2 separate regions of the Homo sapiens genome follow, and region 1 is linked to region 2. The links are contacts of gene promoters, found by promoter capture Hi-C in blood cells and fetal thymus (Javierre and others, 2016). All regions are on one chromosome and are shown on one strand. The core of a region is centred on a gene start or on the middle of the fragment in contact, and the rest is flanking DNA. Distances in the headings are between cores, read along the strand shown.

What was found. The method cuts DNA at HindIII sites, captures the fragments that hold promoters and counts their contacts. A CHiCAGO score of 5 or more calls a contact.
Region 1: a contact is called between a fragment that was not itself captured here and the fragment with the promoter of SLC6A1-AS1 in region 2, in 1 of 17 cell types (M1 macrophages). The highest score is 5.1, in M1 macrophages.

What each region holds. Positions count from the first base shown.
Region 1 is chr3:10,752,905-10,757,613 of GRCh38, forward strand. No RefSeq gene overlaps it. Among named protein-coding and RNA genes, the nearest start is that of LINC00606, 9.0 kb to the right of the region's middle. RefSeq lists a silencer at 1,157-1,357. The HindIII fragment of the contact is 1,295 bases long and covers 687-1,981 here.
Region 2 is chr3:11,016,415-11,020,821 of GRCh38, forward strand. SLC6A1-AS1 (SLC6A1 antisense RNA 1) reads right to left here and starts at 2,810. Exons shown (of 3, transcript NR_046647.1): 1 at 2,706-2,810. It overlaps SLC6A1 (solute carrier family 6 member 1), which reads left to right. Exons shown (of 16, transcript NM_003042.4): 3 at 645-1,035; 4 at 1,429-1,560; 5 at 2,184-2,284; 6 at 3,799-3,908. The coding sequence starts at 798. The HindIII fragment of the contact is 14,538 bases long and covers 1-4,407 here.

The sequences.
Region 1 (4,709 bases), core at 84-2,583, 260 kb before region 2:
AGGCTTTGGGCAGATTGTGAATTGGAGAGGAAGAGCTGGTGCCCCTTCAGGCAAAGCTGTGATTAGGCTTAAAGTTCACCCCTTGAAAGCTCCACTGGCCACAAACATTCTCCCTCTTTGCGCTTCCTCCTCTCTCCCCAGTGCTCTGACATCTGGAACAAGTAAAAGATTTCAGAGGAGGGAACCTTTCCCCCTTGTTTTCTCCTGTGGCCTGTCACTTCCCCTGACTTCCTCCAATGAGGAGGCTCCCAGCCTTGGTCCCACCCATCAGGATGGAAATAAATCCAAAACTGCAGCCAACACCGGCACACTTTGAGATCAGTTTAGATGTTTGGGAATATTTTATTCTTGGGTTCTGAGGAAGGATGTGTGCTTTTTCTAGAGCTCTCTCTCATTCATTTCTTAGATAAACAATTTCTCTACTTCATCCCACAGTGGGAAGGCTTCCCTCTGTATCACAGCATACACTCCCATCTCCTGCATGAGCGTGGCTGCTCCCCAAGGGTGGGGATTTGTGTCTGTCTTGTTCACAGCTGCATTTCTTGTGTGGAGAGCAGTGCCCGGCACATAGAAGAGCCTCCGTGCGTGTTTGTTGAATGAGTGGATGTTGCACCCAAGATCCTCCACTTTGCCTAAGGTGGGCTATGGGGTCAATTGTAGGAAATGGGGCCAATCCATTTCAGTCAAGCTTTCATCCCCAAAGGGCAAGACAGTTTTCTAACAACATGGCAGCTTATGGAGAAATAAGGTTTTTCTAGAATGGAGAACTTCAGGATTATTCAAGTTCAAATTCAGAATGTGAATACAGTGAGGTCTATGAGAATCATTTTTGCAGAAGATAATTAGAACGTGTTTCTTTCTACCCCTGGAAGAAGGAGACACTCAATCTGAGAAGAGAAGAAAAAGGTTAAAAAGAGAGAGAGAGAGAGGCAAGAGGGAGAAGAGAAGGAGAAGAGGAGAAGAGGAGAAGGTGTTACTCGGAGGACAAATGCAATCAAAGAATAAAAAGCCAAAAACTTCCAGACCTAGCTGGAAAATATTTGTTCAATAAGTCATAAAAGCATTGGGGACAGGGAGTAACTAGGTTTAAACTGATTAAACATAGGTTTATAGATGTTTTCCAGGGTGACATGGCAAGGTTGCCCCAGTCCTGCATTCTGCTCTCCAGAACCTGCAACTGAGGAGTCACCTTCAGGGGAAGAGGTGGGCCAGGGAGGAGGAGCCAGCCTCGGGCACAGAGAACCCAAGCCAGGACCCGTCAGGACCCTGGAGAGCTCCGAGCCAGCTGGATGTTCAGTGTTCTGCACCATGCAGCAAATCTGGCCAAGTCGGGAGAAGTCTCCTTTCTCAAACCCCCTTCTGACTTTTAAAGGAAGGGATGCCTTCCACTCTGTTGAGAACTTGTGTTATCCAAGGACGCAGAGGCTAAAAAATAGAATCTTGGAGTGTTGGGGCGGAAAGTGGCTGTCACTGACTTCCCTCTGAGATTCCAACCTCAAATCTGACTACATCACATGATCAGTGGTCAAGTTCTGGTTCCAAAGCTGGTCTCTAACCTCGGGGAGGAAATTTAACACCAGAAAGCCTACAATGGAAGAGCTACTAAAAGAAACAATAAATGGCTCACATTCTGTGAGTAGCGTGTGTATTTGGTTCTAGAGCCCCAGAGAAGTGAAATGAACTAGACAAAGTTACCCCTAAAATGTTCCATATGATTTGGATGTGTGTTCTCTCCAAATCTCAGGTTGAAATGTGATCTCTAAAGTTGGAAGTGGGGCCTGGCGGGAGGTGATTGGATCAGGGAGGCGGATGTCTCATAAATGGTTTAGCACCATCCTCCTGGTGATGAGTGAGTTCTCGCTCTGGTAGTTCATGAGAGATCTGATTGTTCAAAAGAGCATGGCACCTCCCCCCACCACTTCTTGTGCCCACTCTCACCATGTCACATGCTGGCTCCCTGCTGCCTTCCGCCATGATTTTAAGCTTCCTGAGGCCTCACTAGAAGCCAAGCAGATGTTGGTACCATGCTTCTCATACAGCCTCCAGAAACAGGAGTCAGTTAAACCTGTTTTCTTTGTACATTGCCCAGTCTCAGGTATTCTTTTATAGTGACACAAAATGGCCTACCACAACGATGCCTCACATTCTCAAGAGAAACCAAATGTGCAAAGGGTTTAAGAGTCTGTTTGACTCTAACTCCTCCTCAGAGAGCAGCAATGGATCTTTTGGGGTTCCCGCAAGGTATTCCCATCTAATGGCACCAGAAGAGTGGTCCACAAAGAATCTAGGCTTTGCAGTTCTTTGTACTCTACCCTATCTTCCTTTTCCTCTTTCCCCAGTAGAAAGCCTGCAATGTGAAAGAGCTACATAAAAACCAATAAATGGCTCACTGTCTGATTAACTGTCATGGTGCTTATCATAGCTCACTGGACAACGATTGACTCCTTGCAGGTTGGAGAAAGTATGAGCCCCTACTTGTTCCAAAATTTGCTTTGCTTCTTGCCTGGCTACAGCTTAGTTCCTTCTGGGGCTCATCACTACGTGGTAGTTGACTGTGGCTACAGAGGTTGTGAGGCCCTGATGCCTAGCAATTCAAGATAGCTGGATTGTGATGCCAATACAGCTTAGAGAGAAAATGGCTTGCTCAAGGTCAATAGCAAATATGCAAAACCCAGAGCTGTGATGGGCATGAGAAGCTTCGAAATTTGGAAGAGAGACTCAAGTCTCAAAGTAAAGCTCTCATTAATCCCAGGTGGTACATCTCTTGAGGCCTGCAGGATTCCCTTAAATGTGTCTGGCATTGAGTTTTATCCCCAGTGTGTGTCACGAGAAGCATAAAAATGTGATCCTTGTTTGCAAGTGTCCCCTCACCCAGGCGTGATGAGGTCAGAAATTCCACCCTTGCAGACAGCAGGGGTTTTTTGGGTTGAGCATTGACCGTCTTCCTGGACGCTCATTTGGAAGGCAACCAGTGCCTCAAAGACGAAAGACTTCCACAGCTGACCTCTAGCCTTGAGTAGGAAATTTAACACCAATAACTGTACCCTTGGGACAGGACTTCGCAAAGGTCCAGACAGTGGTAGTGGCTTAGTTCCATTCTCAACCTGGTCTTCTAAGACCATTACTGCTTTGTGTTCATTATCTATGAGTGGTTTGCACCTTTGGTTTCATATTAGGACCACTTGGGGAGCTTTTAAAAACCTCAAGACCAATATTCCACTGGTAGTTTCTGGGGATGGAGCTCAGGCCTTAGTAGCTTTTAAAGCTCCCCAGACGACACCAGTGTAGCCAAGGCTGTGAATTGCAGCTCTCCTGGGAGAGCAGAGAATGGAATTGTAACCACTTCTAAGTCCACTGAGCTGAGCACAGTGTCCTGCCCACAGGAAGCAGTTTTTTAATCCATATTGCACTAACGGTGGAAGTTAGATTGAGTTCCAGTACAAGTAAAACTCCCAGGACCTTACATGGCTATGCTGACCAAGCTAAGATTTATTTCAGGAAAAAAATACAAGATATTAAGACCATTAAAATGAGGATATGCATCAGGGCCAAAGGCTGCCTCATAGTGAGGGGTTCTGAGAGTCAGGGGAGAGCTCCAGTTGTTACACTGATGTGGAACGACCATGTGCTTGTTCTTTCAGATCAGGATCTACTGATGCACCTGAGATATTAGAATCAGGAAGCACACAATGGAGGGCTCATCGTGTAGGCACACATGCTGCGTTACCAGCCCTGGCACTGCACAGGGCTCCCTGAGGGAGCCCCTGAGGCCAGTTGCAGGTCATCAGTCTCATTGTGACCCTCAAACAATGCTGACAAGCTGATATCAGACACCCTGAAACTTGTCTCCACCCATGGCCACCAGTCAGTACCCTTCATGCCTTGCCCAGGGGTCCATGCTGTGCAGGCACATCTCTTACTTCAGCAAAACAGCCCAGGCTGATGCCAGACCTGCTGCAATGAGCCCTCAGTGCACCTGGGAGATAAATTCAGCCTGCTTTTCTTGAAACCTTGATACTCAAAGTGAGGTCTTGAATGAAGAGCATCAGGGTGACCTGGGAGCTTTAGAAAAGCTGGATGGCAGGTCCCAGCCCAGAACTACTGAGTCAGAACCCACATTTTCACAATGCACTTCCCCCTCGGAAGTCCTGTGCACATTGACATCTGAGATTCACTGCCTTGAAGGCCACCACACTCATGCTGTTTCTCTTCCCACTGTTCAGGCTGGCCCTCATGCCAGCGAGGCCAGTGTGTTAAGACCAGTGTGAGCATCCCAAGAAGAGGAAAGCCCCTGCATCACGGCCCAGACCCTAAGCCCACCATGTCAGCTCAGGGGGTGCAGAGTGCCTCTATAGCCTGGTCCCCTTCACTGGGAACCATCATGACTGAGGGCTGGGTGACCTTGTGCTGGTGGTGCAGGGTGATTTGTGTCCAGGGAACAGGAGGGCACTCCTATCATTGCCACTCGTCTCTCACCCAACGCATATATTCAGATGAAGTCAGGGCAGAGCTGCAGCCACTGCAGCCTTGAAGGGGAAATTCGCATGACTCATTCACTATTACCACGACCGCTCACAACAATAGCTAACGTTGAATACCCATCTTTGAGTCATCCTACTATCAGCTAGCATTTATTTGGGCATCTGGTATGTGCCAGGCACCATGCTCTTTATTCACACTAACCTATTCATCAGCACAACCTCACTACA
Region 2 (4,407 bases), core at 1,560-4,059:
CCGTCTCTACTAAAAATACAAAAAAAAAATTAGCTGGGCGTGGTGGTGGGCACCTGTAGTCCCAGCTACTCGGGAGGCTGAGGCAGGAGAATGGCATGAACCCGGGAGGCAGAGCTTGCAGTGAGCTGAGATGGCACCACTGCACTCCAGCCTGGGCAACAGAGCAAGACTCCATCTCAAAAAAAAAAAAATGTGGTAAAGTGGACTGTGATCAGAGGTCGTAACTCCTAGGCTCTGTCGTCTTCACCCAGACACCTCCGTAGTGGGGACACCTTTCTCCCCATTCAGCCACAGGTGGAGCTTCTTTCTTGCTCACCCTGGCGATGGCTAGTATGGCCGCAGAGTGTGACAAGGCTCCCAATTGCATCCTTGGAGGCAAAGTTAAAGATTTTATGATTAAGTACTTAACATTTCCTGTTGGAAGTTTGGTGGCCTCAGATTTCTCCTCTGAGCAGGACATACAACAGAGGGTTGGACACAGATGGCCAGAGTTGAAGCTAGGCCAGGAAACATCGCTGTGTCTTTGGAAACAAAAGTCACCTTCCTTCCTCCAGGAGCAAGGGCGGGTGAGAGGAAGAGGGCTTATAGAGAGCCTTTTCAAGCCCCTAGCTTGTTTATGGGTTATTTTGTTTTTGTCATTTTAGGGTGAGGCAACTCCAAGGTCCTACTCTCTTTCTGTGCCTGTTACCCACCCCGTCCTCCTAGGGTGCCCTTGAGCCGCAAAACTGCTGTCCACGTGGACCGGGGGTGACATCGCACGTCCATCTGCCAGGACCCCTGCGTCCAAATTCCGAGACATGGCGACCAACGGCAGCAAGGTGGCCGACGGGCAGATCTCCACCGAGGTCAGCGAGGCCCCTGTGGCCAATGACAAGCCCAAAACCTTGGTGGTCAAGGTGCAGAAGAAGGCGGCAGACCTCCCCGACCGGGACACGTGGAAGGGCCGCTTCGACTTCCTCATGTCCTGTGTGGGCTATGCCATCGGCCTGGGCAACGTCTGGAGGTTCCCCTATCTCTGCGGGAAAAATGGTGGGGGTAGGTGCTGGCCCGGGGACCTCCTGGCTGGGTCTGGACCCTGCAAAAAGGATCCTGCTTAGGCATTTTTCTGGGGCAACTGTAGGAGAAAAGCCCCCCTAAAGACTCCAGAGGGAGCACCAGGCCCCATTTCTTGTTTCTTGTCCCTTTATCAAAAGATTCCTGAAGGACAATTGTCCTCTGTTAATGATACCAAGAAATTCATCTATTCACCTGCAAAAAATGGGATGTATTTCACATATGGCTTTCCTTGGGCCTGTGGTTGGCTGTGGGTCCTGCTTTTGAGGCAGGTATAAAGAAATACTGGATGGGGACCCAGACCCACGACACTCCCTCTACCAGGGCGGGTCTTGAAAGTCTTGGGGCCACGAGCTCTGTCTTCTTTACCTGCAGGAGCCTTCCTGATCCCCTATTTCCTGACACTCATCTTTGCGGGGGTCCCACTCTTCCTGCTGGAGTGCTCCCTGGGCCAGTACACCTCCATCGGGGGGCTAGGGGTATGGAAGCTGGCTCCTATGTTCAAGGGTAAGTCTGCAGATCAGGGACCTGGGTGGTGGTGCCCCTGCCCACACACACCTCTTGCCCTCTGGAGAGAGCGAGCTGTCTACCCAGACCAGGGCTGACATCACATATCCATCCACCAGGTGCATATCTGAGCAGAGTGAGGGCTGTTGCAAGGGGCCAGGTGGCAGATGACAGTGCTGGTCAGAAGCTAGGGAGGTGGAGGTGGAGAGGCCCAATCCAGAGTCCCCCGCACATCAGCCTGCTCTGTCCTGTTAGCCCATCTATTTCCTCTGCAAGGGCTGGGTGTGACTTTCTTTGCCTCGTGCTCAGTGCCTGACAGGCACCCAGGTAGATACATGGTGAGTCATGCTCACTGACCGAGGGCCTGGGCCTCACCTCGTCCGGCAAGCTGAGACCCCAGCCCTGCCTGCCACCAGTCTGCACTGGGCCCCAGACATGAGTCCTGGCCCCCTGGCTTGTCAGATGTACATGACCTTCAGCAAGTCACTGCCTCTCTCTTAGCCTCAGTGTCCTCAGTAATGCCTGTCTCCGAGATCAATAAGATTGTAGAGGTCATGGAACATGCCACGACAGTTCATGTTAATTCCGTATTAAATGGACGCGTGTCTGTGTTCCGCTCCCAGGCGTGGGCCTTGCGGCTGCTGTGCTATCATTCTGGCTGAACATCTACTACATCGTCATCATCTCCTGGGCCATTTACTACCTGTACAACTCCTTCACCACGGTGAGTGGTCCCTTTGACCACCCCATCCAGCAGAAGCCACACCCAGAGCCCACCCTTGGCCCACCACGGCCACCACTCTGCTGACAAGGCCATTCCTCCAGGAGTGGGGAACTTGGTTTGTCTTTTGTGGGCCTTGGTCTCCCCACAACAGCCATAGCCTCACAAATTTAGCATCTCCTGTGAGACAGGCACTCCTTGCAGGCTCACATCCAATCCTCATGACACCCCTCTAAAGTGCGTATTGTTAGCACATTTTATATGGACACAGACAGCCTGGGTTCAAATCCTGACTCTACTATATACCAGCTGTGCAACTTCAGAAAAGAGACTTAACCTCTCTGAGTCTCAGTGCCCTCATTTATAAAATGGAAATAAAATTAGAACCTGCCCCAGTTCCTCAAAAAATTAAACATAGAATTACCATATGATCCAGCAATTCTGCTTCTGAGTAGATACCTGAAGAATTACAAGCAGCTCTCAAAGAGATATTTGTACACTCCTGTTCACAGCAGCACTATTCACAGTAGGCAAAAGGTGGAAGCAAGCCAAGCGTTCACTGATAAATGAATTGGTAAGCAAAATGTGGTCTATACATACAATGGAATGTAATTCAGCCTTAAAAGGAAGGAAATTCTGACGCATGCATCAACATGGATGGACCTTGAGGATATTATGTCAAGTGAAATAAGCCGGTCACAAAAATACAAATAGTGTTTGATCTTGCTTATATGAGTTCCCTAGAGTAATCAAATTTATAGAGACAGAAAGTAGAATGATGGTTGCCAGGGGTTGTGGGTAGGGGGATGAGGAGTTGTTGTTTAGTGGGTGGAGTTGCAGTTTTGCAAAATGAAAAAAGTTCTGGAGCTGGATGCTGACAATGTTAGGCAATACATTTCTCACAATGTACTCCCATTGTTAAGTGACACATGACTGTATTTGCAGAGGTGTGGCAGGGTTCAGGGAGCTACATTATGGGTATACTTAATGCTTCTAAATTGTACAGGCACCAATAGTTAAGATGGTAAATGTTGTGTGTATTTTATCAAAATTAAAAAATGAAAGAAAACAAAAAGTGAAACCCACCTCATAGGGTTCTTGTGAGGATTAAGGAGCAGATATGTGTAAGGAACTTAGAACTGCGCCTGGCAGAGAACAAGCCCTGTAAGTGTTTGCTGGTGTCGTTGCAGTGAGAGTTAGATGGGCAAGGTCTCTTGCCCAAGGTCACATGGTGGGGAAGTAGCCCCGGCTGCAGCTTGGAAGGCTGTTCTCACAGTGAACAGGTTGAGGTTCAAATCTCAGCTCTGGCACTTAGTAGCTGTGCATTCTCAAGCAAGTCACTGTCCCTCTCTGATCTGTCAAATGGGGATCATAATGCTACTTGCCTCCCAGAGCTGCTGCGAAGGGGAGGTGTGAGGAGGCTTGGGGACCATGAGGGTGGGCAGGGTGCACTGGGACCACTCATGCCAGCCCCTGGGAGCCCAGCAGGATGCGTCCTCATGACTGTGTCCTTGCAGACACTGCCGTGGAAACAGTGCGACAACCCCTGGAACACAGACCGCTGCTTCTCCAACTACAGCATGGTCAACACTACCAACATGACCAGCGCTGTGGTGGAGTTCTGGGAGTGAGTATGGGGCCATCAGGGGATGGCAGGGACGGGGCATGTCAGCCAGAGCCCGGCAGGAGACAGAGGCCCCTCGGAGGGGTAACAGAAGAGGTGGATAAAGGGGCTACAGTCATGTGTCACATCATGACATTTTGGTCATCAGTGGACCACATATGCAACGATGGTCCCATAAGATTATAATACCATATTTTTACTTTACCTTTTCTACGTCTAGACATGTCTAGTACCGAAATGCATTGTGTTACAGTTGCGTACAATATTCAGTACAGTCATGTGCTGTACAGGTTTGTAGTCTAGGAGCAATAGGCCACACCGTATGGCATAGGAGTGTAGCAGGCTAGACCATCTAGGTTTGTGCAAGTACACGCTATGATATGCACACAACAACAAAATTGCTTAAGAACGCATTTCTCAGAACATATCCCTGTTGTTAAGTGACACATGACTATACTTGCAGAGTTGTGGCAGGGCTAAGGCAGCCACAAGGGATGCTGAA